Linked DNA regions of Homo sapiens: all the other regions are linked to region 4. Evidence: promoter capture Hi-C in human tissues and cell types (Jung and others, 2019). All regions are on one chromosome and are shown on one strand. Each heading gives the region's core, a stretch centred on a gene start or on the middle of the fragment in contact. The rest is flanking DNA. Distances are from core to core; before and after follow the strand shown. Region 1 has its middle 150 kb from the start of BMP7-AS1. Region 2 has its middle 170 kb from the start of BMP7-AS1. Region 3 has its middle 280 kb from the start of BMP7-AS1. Region 4 holds the start of TFAP2C (transcription factor AP-2 gamma).

Region 1 (2,700 bases), core at 133-2,632, 430 kb after region 4:
AAGGTATGCCTGTATAAATGTAATGCTGGGAGACACAAACTCTTTTTCAGAATATTAGAAAGGAACCATCTCAGGACAGAGGCAATGGGGAAGTGGGTGGGGTGCGGGTGAGCAGGGCTGTGAAGTCTTGAGATTTGCCTCTGCGGTTGCTGACAGAGAACGAGTTATTATTATTATTATTATTATTATTATTATTATTATTTGAGACAGAGTCTCACTCTGTCGCTCAGGCTGAAGTGTAGTGACACAAAGTCAGCTCACTGCAATCTCCACCTCCCAGGTTCAAGCAACTTCACCGTGGAGACAGTTTTCTTATTAAATTGCTTGTACTCTCTTAGAAGGATTACTCATTTGATCAGCGGGAGGAACCACTCCCAAAATACCTTTTGAGTCATTTGGGGTTTCTATTGCCTTTTGCATAAACTTTGAATTATTCTTTTTGTTGAAAAGGTTACTATTAGGAAACACGTTCACAGGCAGTCTGTAAATGTCATCATATTTCAGCTGGGGACAGAGCTACACGAGGGTTTGGAGGAGGCGGCTCAGGGAGAAGGCAGCACCTCAGCCTGTTCTCTCAATGCACTGGCTGCAAGGAGCAGCTGCAACCCAGAGCCCACTGGGCCCAGACACCTAGCTGCCACATTTCCAGGGGTGGGCCTGCTCATGACGCAGGCAAGACAGGAAAACCGGGACAAGCTCCTGACCAGGCAGAGGTCAGGGACAGCTGCTCAGGTGCCACCAAGCATGAGGCAGGGCACCACCCAAGGCTTCCTGCCCAAACCTGTGGCATGCCCTGTTGGTGCTTTGCTGAAACTGTCCTTCTCTAAGAAGGCAATGAAGACAGTTGTCCCAGGCCCCAAAAAGAAGCACTCACTCCCTTTCCCATGAGACCACCAGTTTCGGATAGAGATTCTGTTTGGCTGGCGTTCTCAACTCATTAGAATTGGAATTAAAGAGCAGGGATGGGAAGTGACATTACAAACTCCGATGCCCAGGCCCCATCCCCGACTAACTGAATCAGAAATGCTGGGAGGCGAGCTCAGGACATTATGTTTTTAAAACGCACCAGGTGAGGCTGACACGCAGCCAGGGCTCAGAACCATGGATTTCAGCCAAAAAGGCTTTAGCCCAAGAAGACCGTGCAAATACAAAATGCCAAAGGGAGGGTCATCAGGTGAGTTTCATAGAATTCTGATTCTCCTCCTAATAAAGTACGTCCCTGGTAGCTGAGAGATGGGAGAGCAGCTCCACATGTGGGACCTGCCAGGGGGATTCGGCATTCCTGCGGCCCCCTCTGCTGGCCATGATGCTCTCAGATTCTTTGCTGAAAGGGAACGGACATAGGAGCCATCCCACTAAACTCTTCAAAGGACGCTTCTCAGATGCCGGAGTCCACAGAGTAGGGCAACATACAAAGCAAGCACCCAAAACACTGGGGGTGAGAGTCTCAAACCTTGTACTCTGTAATTACATCCAGCATCACCATCACTTCTCAAAAGAGAAGACACTTTCCCAGCAAAAATAGAAAAGGAAAGCAGTTGCAGAATAGTTAAGACTGAGCCCTGAGACATCAGTTTAGCCTTGAGAAAAAAACTACTTCCATTGTCCACATTTTTCTTAGCTGGATTCCTACCAATGAACCCCTGCTGGGACTTGAGTTTGGGGGGCACTGAGTGAAGTAAGAACTTTTAGTTAAGAAATTATTCTTTGGCCGTGGTTGTAATATCGTAGTCAGGGATGGCTTCACGGGCATGTGTCCAGGGCCCCACACTTAGAAGCATCCTGCCCTGGGTTTAATGCTCTCTTGAAATTCTTCATAATTTTTGGACAAGGAACTCCGCCTTTTCATTCTGTACTGGGCCCTGCAAATTCTGTACCCAACCCTGATTTTCACTGGTGGATTTATGTAAACGTGTGTCTTTCAGTTAGTCAATAAATATGTCTTGGACACTTATCGGTGCCGGTTTCCGAGGACACACCATGTGCAGTATCGCTGAGGGCAGGATCCAGAGTGTGCCTGCCTCAGAAAGCTTTGCTTCTGGAGGGGCCACAGGGAAAATGTTCACCAATAGGAAAGCCTATAAATAAGATCATTGAAAAGATTGGGAATCTGACAAGGATATCTATGTGAAACAGGAGAGTTCCCTGAACCCCCTTGCAGGATGTGCAACAAGGGTACGGCTCATGTGTGTGCTCAAACCCCTTACAGGAGGGAGAGCACGCAGACAGGCAGGTGCAGGAGATAGGGTGAGCACCCCTGGGCTCCAGCCCCACAACAGCATCCAGGAGGTGGGATCCTGTGACTCCCGAAGCCCAAGTAGGCGTGTGTTACAGTGTGCTCTTTTAGCCTTGCCATCCATGGAGGGCTTAAGTGTTAACCAGCTCAGTCTTGGTACACAGGTCCTTGTCCAGCATTCAGGAAGAATCAGGTCACACATGGACTTGAAGGATGGTGAATGCAGGGATTTTATTTGGTGCTGGAGGTGGCTCTCAGCAGGACAGATGGGGACCTGGAAAGGGAATGGCGTGGGAAGATGATCTTTCCCTGGAGTTTGGCTGTCCCTGGGCCGATCTCTCTGACTGTCCCCAGCAGACGTTCAGACGCTCCTTCTCTTCTCTCCTCCTCCACCACTCCATTCTTCTGCTCATCTGCTCGTGGAACCTGGGTTTGGGGTTTATATGGGTACAGGATAGGGGGCC
Region 2 (2,700 bases), core at 99-2,598, 420 kb after region 4:
TTTGTCTGGTTTGCTGTGCACCGGAGGTGTGCCTAGAAGAGGTCTGGCACAACTTAGCATACCAAAATGCGTGCTGAACACACAAGGATCACTCACCCTGGACCGGCACTCTGAGCAGGGCGTCTGAGCCTTTGATTCCTATTTTCTGCTTCTAGGGATGCGTGCTGCTGCTTTAACTTCCCCACTGCCTTCCCCTGTCCACAGAGAGGGGCGGACATGCGGGACCAAAGACCGTGTTTCTGACTCTGGTCTCAAAGGTCATCCCTCGTTTCTTCCTCCAGCGACGTTCAGCGAGCCCTGGCTAGGGGCCAGGTACTGTGCTGGGACAGGCACTGGTGCCACAGCAGCGAGGAAAACAGACAAAAATCCCTGCCCTTCTGGATATGGATATTTGGGGCCCTGTGAAAGACCAAGCAAAGATGCACTGATTTTTCTTCTATGCCAAAAGAAAGCCTGAATGTATTCATTCAAACCCACGTTTCCATCTTTTGAGTACTTTCTACATGCCAAGCCCTGTGCTGGACCCGAGTCTAGCCCCTCTTCTCTGGAGCAGCTCTTGCCTCTTGGCAACACCGCATGTATAGAAAATGGTAGCATCTAGACAGTGTCCTGGGCTTAGGCAGCCAGGCTCTGGGGAGTCCGTTATGAGGCTTGGTGAAAAGCTTCATGGCATTTAAAGTACTGTGTAATGATAATAAAGACAAAATACAAAGGATTACGGGGTATATTTAATACTGAGTTTTGTTTAAAGCTTCCAAATAAAATCTTCTTACCTTAAAAAAAGAACTTGAACTTGCTTCCATATAGGTTCCTAGCTTATGCCAGATTTTATGCTTGACATGATAGCACACAATTTCTCAGCAAGAATTTTGTTAGGGATATCTGGAAATTACTAATTGCCACTCTTTATGAGAAATTTTGAATAAATAAGGAATATATTTTTTAAAATCATTTTTAAAACAATATTCAAAAAAGGAACATAAAAGAACAGGTGAAAATTATATTGAAAGAATCCAAAGATTCTTTTAACAACATAAAATATTGTAATTTCTTACGATTGTATGCAAGAATTCCAAACTGAACTTTTCCATACCACGTACTTCGAAATAACAGTGATGCTCTAATTTGGAGAACAGACATGAACTGTGAGTGCGGTGACTCTGAAGCCAGCTTGGATGATGCTAAAAGGACACATCAGCTGCAAATCAACACCAGCTGGGCTCTGGGCCATCTGGACCCTGCCCACCTGCAGCCTCCACCCAGCCTCCTGCCTCCACCTCCCTCCAGCTACACCTGGGGTGGCACATCATTCACCTTCAGCACCTGAGACACGAGCTCCCTCAGCGCCCCCAGGGGCCCTTGTCCATGAGAGCAGAGGTGTGCTTGCTGTGGGATGTGGACGAAGATGCTGAGATGCTGGAGGATCTCCTGGTTGAACCTGGAGCATCAGGCAGAGCAGAGTTTGTGCCGGTTGTGTGGGGAGTATGGGGCAGCCATTCACCTCACCCAGCTTGGGCCATCCTCCGAGGGTCCCTAGAGGAGGCTCCAGGCAGGGGATGGCTGGAACTGGAGCCCTGCAGACTTGGGTCTCTGACCACCCTAATCCCTGAGCACCATGTTATGCACTGGTAGCTCACCTGTAGGGCTAGAGCAGTGGTTCTTGAAGTGGGGTCCCCGGGCCTGCAGCATCAGCAGCATCGGGGAACTTGTTAGAAATGCATATTCTTGAACAAAAAACCAAACACCGCATATTCTCACTCATAGGTGGGAATTGAACAATGAGAACACATGGACACAGGAAGGGGAACATCACACTCTGGGGACTGTTGTGGGGTGGGGGGAGGGGGGAGGGATAGCATTGGGAGATATACCTAATGCTAGATGACGAGCTAGTGGGTGCAGCGCACCAGCATGGCACATGTATACATATGTAACTAACCTGCACATTGTGCACATGTACCCTAAAACTTAAAGTATAATAATAATTAAAAAAAAGAAAGAAAAAAAAGAAATGCACATTCTTTCCCCCCATCCCTCTGCACTCTGCGTTTTAACAAGTCCTCCAGGTGATTCGGGTGCATGTTCAAGTTCAAGAAGCCCAGGTCCAGAATTGCTTCTTGTGTCTTACCAGCCTTCTTCTCAGCTATCTCGATCTGTTGGAGGTCCCCCTCTGCCAGGGAACAGTAAGACCCTGCGAACAAAACTTCGCTATTGCATCACCTGGAGAGAAATGCAGATTCTTGGGCCCCACTCCAGACCCATGGGGGATGATTCAAAGGTAAAGTTTGAGAATGAGGGACAATCTTGTTAAAACGAGTTGCTGGTTTGAGAACCTGCAATTCTTTGTCTTTTCTCTTTTCTTTTCTTTTCTTTCTTTCTTTCTTTCTTTCTGTCTTTCTTTCTTTTTTTTCTTTTCTTCTTCTTTTTTTTTTTTTTTTTTTTGAGACAGGGCCTCATTCTGTCAGTCCAGGCTGGAGGACAGTGGCACAATCTCGGCTCACTGCAACCTCTGCCCCCGGGGCTTAAACGATTCTTCCACCTCAGCCTCCTGAGTAGCTGGGACTACAGGTGCTCATCACTACACCTGGCTAATTTTTGTATTTTTTTGTATTTTTTTTTTTTTTAGAGACAGGGTTTTGCTGTGTTGCCCAGGCTGGTCTCCAACTCCTTGACTCAAGAGATCCGCCCACCTCCACCTCC
Region 3 (2,700 bases), core at 49-2,548, 300 kb after region 4:
AGAAAAATAACATTTGCATTGGTTTAAGAAAATTTTTACCTTACAATTTTCATCTCCTCTTCCTTGTTGCCTATAAATATTTTTAAGAAACTGGAAATAAATGACCTGCAAACAGCCAAAGGGGGACAAAAGTGTTCTGGTGTTCAAGGCTGGGAGGTCTTTTTTTCCCCCTAACTCTTGAAAGGAAACTGTCCATTAGCTCTTAGATGAAGTTCTCAGGTGTTTGTGCCTTCAGCAAGCTGTGGTGAGTCTGAGCAAAATGAAGCTGCGATGCATCAGAGAGTTAAATGTAAATAGCTCCTCCTTGCAGGACGCTTGGCTCCCGCTGTACGTAGGTGGAGTTTGGAATCTGGGGTCCCACAAACCCCTTGCATTTTTGGTTGATTGTCTTTAATTACTTTTGAGTGCTGAGCAAGGTTGCTCATGCCTCCAGGCGTCCATGACAGACAAGGAATGTTTTTTAATGCCATGTATAAGGAGCACGTCATTAAGCATCAAACAGAGCAAAAATGACAAGAATAGCGAGTGTATCATTATGGCCTTCATTTAAGTAGAAAATACAGTAAACAGAAAGAAAAACCAACTACACGGGGTAATGGGGAGCGGATTTATTTGTTTCGATTGCCGACTATTCAGAAAGGCATTTATACTCGGATTCTCACCGCACTCACCGAAGCTTTAATTTCTCAGGTTGAAGGATGAAGGGACAAAGGGGGAGGAGGGTGAAGCGAGCAAAGGGGTTCTCATCTACCCTCAAGAAAACAAGTTAAATGCCACTTTAGTGTCTAAAGGGAAAAAGTTATCACTAATTATTTTTTATAATTTCTTTCTGGGGAGAAGAGTAAAATATGGAGATGTTCCCATGTTGCCAGAGTTAAGCCCATCACATTTAGCAAATCAAACTACGGGACACTCAATTAAATGTTAATTTTAGATAAACGATAATTTTTTTAAGGATAAGTCTTTCTCACGCAATATTTGGGACATACTTATACTAAAAAAAAGAGTATTCATTGTTTATCTAAAATGAACATTTAACGGGGTCTCCTGTGTTTAATTTGGCAACCCTTTTAGAGGTAGGAATCCAAATGCTGGCTCCTTATAATTCCATCATCTGTGCATCTGGATCACAGGAAAATTAAGTGCCACTCCACTCCATAAACAGAGAGATTAAATAGGGGGCACGTATGATAGTCAAAAGGATAAATAATATTATCAGTGAGTTATACTTTATACCCAACAGCATACGTTTGTATTAGCAACAATGGGCACATGTGGAATTGCAATGGTGGACCCCGTGAATCTGCACTGTGGAAGTAGAGAGGTGGACACTTGTGTTACCGGAAAGGGGTCCCGATCCAGACCCCAAGAAAGGGTTCTTGGATCTCACACAAGAAAGAATTTGAGGTAAATCCTTAGAGTAACATGAAAGCAAGTTTATTAAGAAAATAAAGGAATCAAAGAGCGGCTACTCCATAGGCAGAGCAGCCCTGAGGGCTGCTGGTTGCCCATTTTTATGTTTTTTTTAAATTATATGTTAAACAAGGGGTGGATTATTCATGAGTTTTCCCAGGAAAGGCATGGGCAGTTTCGGAGCTGCGGGCTCCTCCCCTTTTTAGACCGTATAGGGTAGCTTCCAGACGTTGCCATGACATCTGTAAACTGACATGGTGCTGGTGGGAGTGTCTTCTAGCATGCTAATGCATTATAATTAGCAGGTTATGAGCAGCGAGGACACCAAGAGGTCACTCCTGTTGCCATCTTGGTTTTGGTGGGTTATGGCTGGCTTCTTTACTACAACCTGTTTTATTGGGCAGGTCTTTATGACCTGGATCTTGTGCTGACCTCCTATTTCATCCTGTGATTAGAATGCCCAACCAATGGGAAATGCAGCCCAGCAGGTTTCAGGCTTATTTTACCCAGTCCCTATTCAGGATGGAGTTGCTCTGGTTCAAACGCCTCTGACACTTGAACCGAGGATCGTGGCGGAAAGGGCTGGACATGGAGATTCAAGGAATGGCCTCTGGCCACTTCCTGGTGGTGTGGCCCTGAGAAAGCTGCTTAAACTCCTACACCCTGGGTTTCCTCATCTGTAAAACACAAATAACTGTACGTGTCTCCAGAACTTGTACTCTCCGAGATAACACAAGTAAAGCCTGAAGCTCAGGGATGGACGAAGAGCCCTCGAGAAACCGTGGGTGTCCTGTGGAGAGACAGTGCTGCCTCACGGTTAAGGACACTGGGAGTGAGGGAGAGACAACAGAATTTTGGTAGCTTCCTGTCCTTGGGCCAATGACTTCACTCTCAGAGTATTCTTTTTTTTTTTTTTTTCTGCTGACTATCCTTTTAAAATTTAAACTGCAATCAGCCCTTTAAAATGGAAATGAGATCTCGTCATTCCCCTGTTCAAAGATCTCAAATGGCTCCATACCACACTTGGAATAAAAGCCAGGCCTTTTACATTCCCTAGGAGACCCCATGTGATGTCCCCACCACCCACCAAGGGAACTGTCACTTTGGCCATGCTGGCCTCCTCTCAACTCCTCAGACCTCCAACAGCACTGGGACTGGGGGAGGCAAGAGGGGTACCCGGTGTGCAGGATTTATGGAGGCCTTTGCTTTCAGGATCATGCGAGTTTTCACAGGTTTTGCAGACGCTCATGTGGGCCTAAAAAATGGCACCCTATACCCTCTGAGGTC
Region 4 (2,700 bases), core at 134-2,633:
CCACCTGGGTCTAAATAAATGCTAAAGTTCAAACGAACCCGAGAAGGAACAGCGAGGCAGTGGATGCCGCCATTCCGTGGATGGGAGAGTCATGTCTACTGCAGGTGCGGACACCGTACTGATAGGCATTGATTATTGCAAAATCGTATTCAGTATCAAATAGAAATAGTCTTGTCCTCTAATCCCCACAGAATGTTTAAATCCAGCCCAGGGAGCCAGTTGGGGCGTCCCAACAAATACGCCCTCGAGAATTAGCGATGTTCCCCTTACAATGAAAGTCAATTGCTGCATAATAACTGGGCCAAAGAATTTCGTTAGTTTAAATTTTAAAAATTAGTATTGCACTTTGCTTTCAAGTTTGGGTGGCAAGTACCGAAGGGGAGAGGGAAGCAGCGTTTGTGTGGAAGGAAGTTTCGTTTTCTGTCTAAACATGTGGGACCTGGGTGTCTACCTCTCCAGTCGAGAGCTCTCTGCAGGCTCTCTCCCAACTTCCTGCACCTCCTCACCCTCACCTTACCCGTGGCGCTCGGGTTTTATTCCTGCCCGGCGCTTCTTTCCCAGGGCGAGTAGAGGCTTCTGAGTGACCGGCCCGCCAGAGGCAGCTGCAGAGCCGGCGTTCCGCAGGGCAGGGCAGGGCCGGGCCGCTGGGCTGGTCCAGTGCGCGCGGGTTCCCCCTGGCCTCAGCCAGCCGCGGGAGATGCCACTTCGGGCGACAGCGGCGAGACGCCGCTGTCCGCAACTCCTGGGCGGGTAGGACCGTCTGCTGCCTCTGCGGCCCTTGGGGCAGACTCCCCAGGAGTCCCTTCCTCTCTCCTCCCGCCCGGGGGCCGGGACCGCGCTGTGCCCACGGAGGGAACTGGGCGTCTCTGGCGCACTGGGGCTCCAGCTGCATGATCCCAGCTCAGACCTTAAGCCTCAGTGGGGTGTAGGTGGGATGGGATGTGTTTTTAGGAGATGAGGAGACCCCGGTTGTTGAGTCGCTCCCCAAATGCGCAGTTTCTTAACTCCAGGTGACATCCGTCTTTTGGAGGAACGAGTGAAGGCCGTTTAGGCGAAAGAGGGGTGGGTTTCAGTATTTGGATCCCTTCCCCCAGCTCTGCCAATCTCAGGTGTGTTTACGGTGGAGGTGACAGAAGGAAGGCGCGTCGGGGGACCCAGGCCTCGCAGGTCTTCGGCTGTCAACGAGGCACCGCCCACTGACTCCGCGCTTCGTCCCTCACAGCGTGGGGCTCGGCGCTGCGCCAGGCCCGGGTGCGGGGCGGAGCTAGGCTGGGACTGGCTGGGGGCCGCCCCGCCCGGCGCCTGGGCCTCCGCGCCGGCCCCCGGGGAGGAGTTATGATAATTTCCTTCTCATTAAGGCGCTCGGGTCCCCCGGCTATCGCCAGGACACACTGTTCGGGCGCGGCTTTCCCCGTCCGCGGAGCGGTCTTGACACTCGCGGCGGCAGCATCTACGCTCGCAGAGCCGCCGATGCGTGTCCAGTGACCCGGACAGCAAGGCCCGCGCGCGGCGGGGGCGGCGGCAGACGCCTGGTCACCGTGACCCCGATTTTGGATTTACCGCTTGGGGGCTGGGGGGATCCTGGATTTAACTGGCGACTGTTTTGGGGGACGCCGGACGCCATGTTGTGGAAAATAACCGATAATGTCAAGTACGAAGAGGACTGCGAGGTGAGCTGGGGCTCCGGGGTGCAGCCCCGCCCCGCCGAGGACAGTCCGGGAGGCAGGGGCCACTGGACCGAGGTCGGGGACGAGGGCATAGGAGCCCTGGCCTCTCGGTGGGACGGGATCCACTTCTCCGGACACCCCTTAGTCCATTTCTGCGGGGCCCCTTTCCTGTATAGGGCCTTTTCCTAAATAGCCTCCCCTCGGGAACGAGGCCTGGAAAGAGAATGGCAAATCCCACCCACACAGCTTACCGGGCGCTTTCCTAAGCGGCAAACAGCCCTGCTTCCCGTTTTCTCGGAAAAGTGCCCCGTCTGCAACCCTCAGACGTGGCTTTTACGCACGAAGTCTCTGTCCAAAGGGGTCAGATGAGGCTACCTGCTAGCGACACCTTGGCGGACACTCCTCCAAGGCCGGCTTGTCACCTGCCCCGCTACCTCCTCGGGGAAGCACGAAAACAACCGAAGTTTGGCTTTCAAAAGAAGTGGGGGCTGGGGAGTGGTGGTGGGGGTGCCCGAGGCCAGATGGGGCCGTAAGAGCTCGCGAGTGCTCCAGCCTGTCGGACAGGTTGAGCTAGAGTTTCGGAGAGTGGGAGGGAAGAAGGAGGCGGCGAGCGGGAAGAGGAAGAAGACGCAGGCAGCGCTAGGCGAGCTCAGGGGCGCCGGGAGCGCGGAGCTCGGGCTACGGACTCGCGGGAGTTCACTGCGCCTCCGGGCCCTGGAGGGCTGCCCCTGCCCGCAGGCCCGGGCGCTTCCGCCAGGAGGCGACAGCGCCATGTTCCTCCAGGTTCCCGGCGCCCCGAGACCCCTGGGCAGATGGGGACGCATCCTTTAGAAACTGAGTCGGGCCGCCCAGGGGCGAGGGAACGTGCGCGGGCAAGGCTGCCCAATTTCCAGGGTTCTTCATGCCCCCTCTGCGCCCCGACGTGCGAGAACACTGCCCTTGGCAGTGCAGGGCGCCCCCACTTATTACTCCCCTCGGCTGGGCCCGGCCAGCAGGGAGGGCCGCCCTGTGCGCGCGCTCCCTCTTCACTTCC

What was found. The method cuts DNA at HindIII sites, captures the fragments that hold promoters and counts their contacts. A contact is called where the count stands out against the background at its distance.
Region 1: a fragment that was not itself captured here is called in contact with the fragment with the promoter of TFAP2C in region 4 in 2 of the 25 tissues and cell types used here (mesenchymal stem cells and thymus).
Region 2: a fragment that was not itself captured here is called in contact with the fragment with the promoter of TFAP2C in region 4 in 1 of the 25 tissues and cell types used here (mesendoderm cells).
Region 3: a fragment that was not itself captured here is called in contact with the fragment with the promoter of TFAP2C in region 4 in 3 of the 25 tissues and cell types used here (H1 embryonic stem cells, mesendoderm cells and neural progenitor cells).

The regions. Positions count from the first base shown.
Region 1 is chr20:57,060,198-57,062,897 of GRCh38, forward strand. No RefSeq gene overlaps it. Among named protein-coding and RNA genes, the nearest start is that of BMP7-AS1, 150 kb to the right of the region's middle. The HindIII fragment of the contact is 4,827 bases long and covers 1-2,700 here.
Region 2 is chr20:57,043,800-57,046,499 of GRCh38, forward strand. No RefSeq gene overlaps it. Among named protein-coding and RNA genes, the nearest start is that of BMP7-AS1, 170 kb to the right of the region's middle. RefSeq lists an enhancer at 920-1,421. The HindIII fragment of the contact is 6,368 bases long and covers 1-2,700 here.
Region 3 is chr20:56,929,444-56,932,143 of GRCh38, forward strand. No RefSeq gene overlaps it. Among named protein-coding and RNA genes, the nearest start is that of BMP7-AS1, 280 kb to the right of the region's middle. The HindIII fragment of the contact is 8,822 bases long and covers 1-2,700 here.
Region 4 is chr20:56,627,923-56,630,622 of GRCh38, forward strand. TFAP2C (transcription factor AP-2 gamma) reads left to right here and starts at 1,384. Exons shown (of 7, transcript NM_003222.4): 1 at 1,384-1,670. The coding sequence starts at 1,623. RefSeq lists silencers at 1,295-1,354, 1,411-1,705. The HindIII fragment of the contact is 13,903 bases long and covers 1-2,700 here.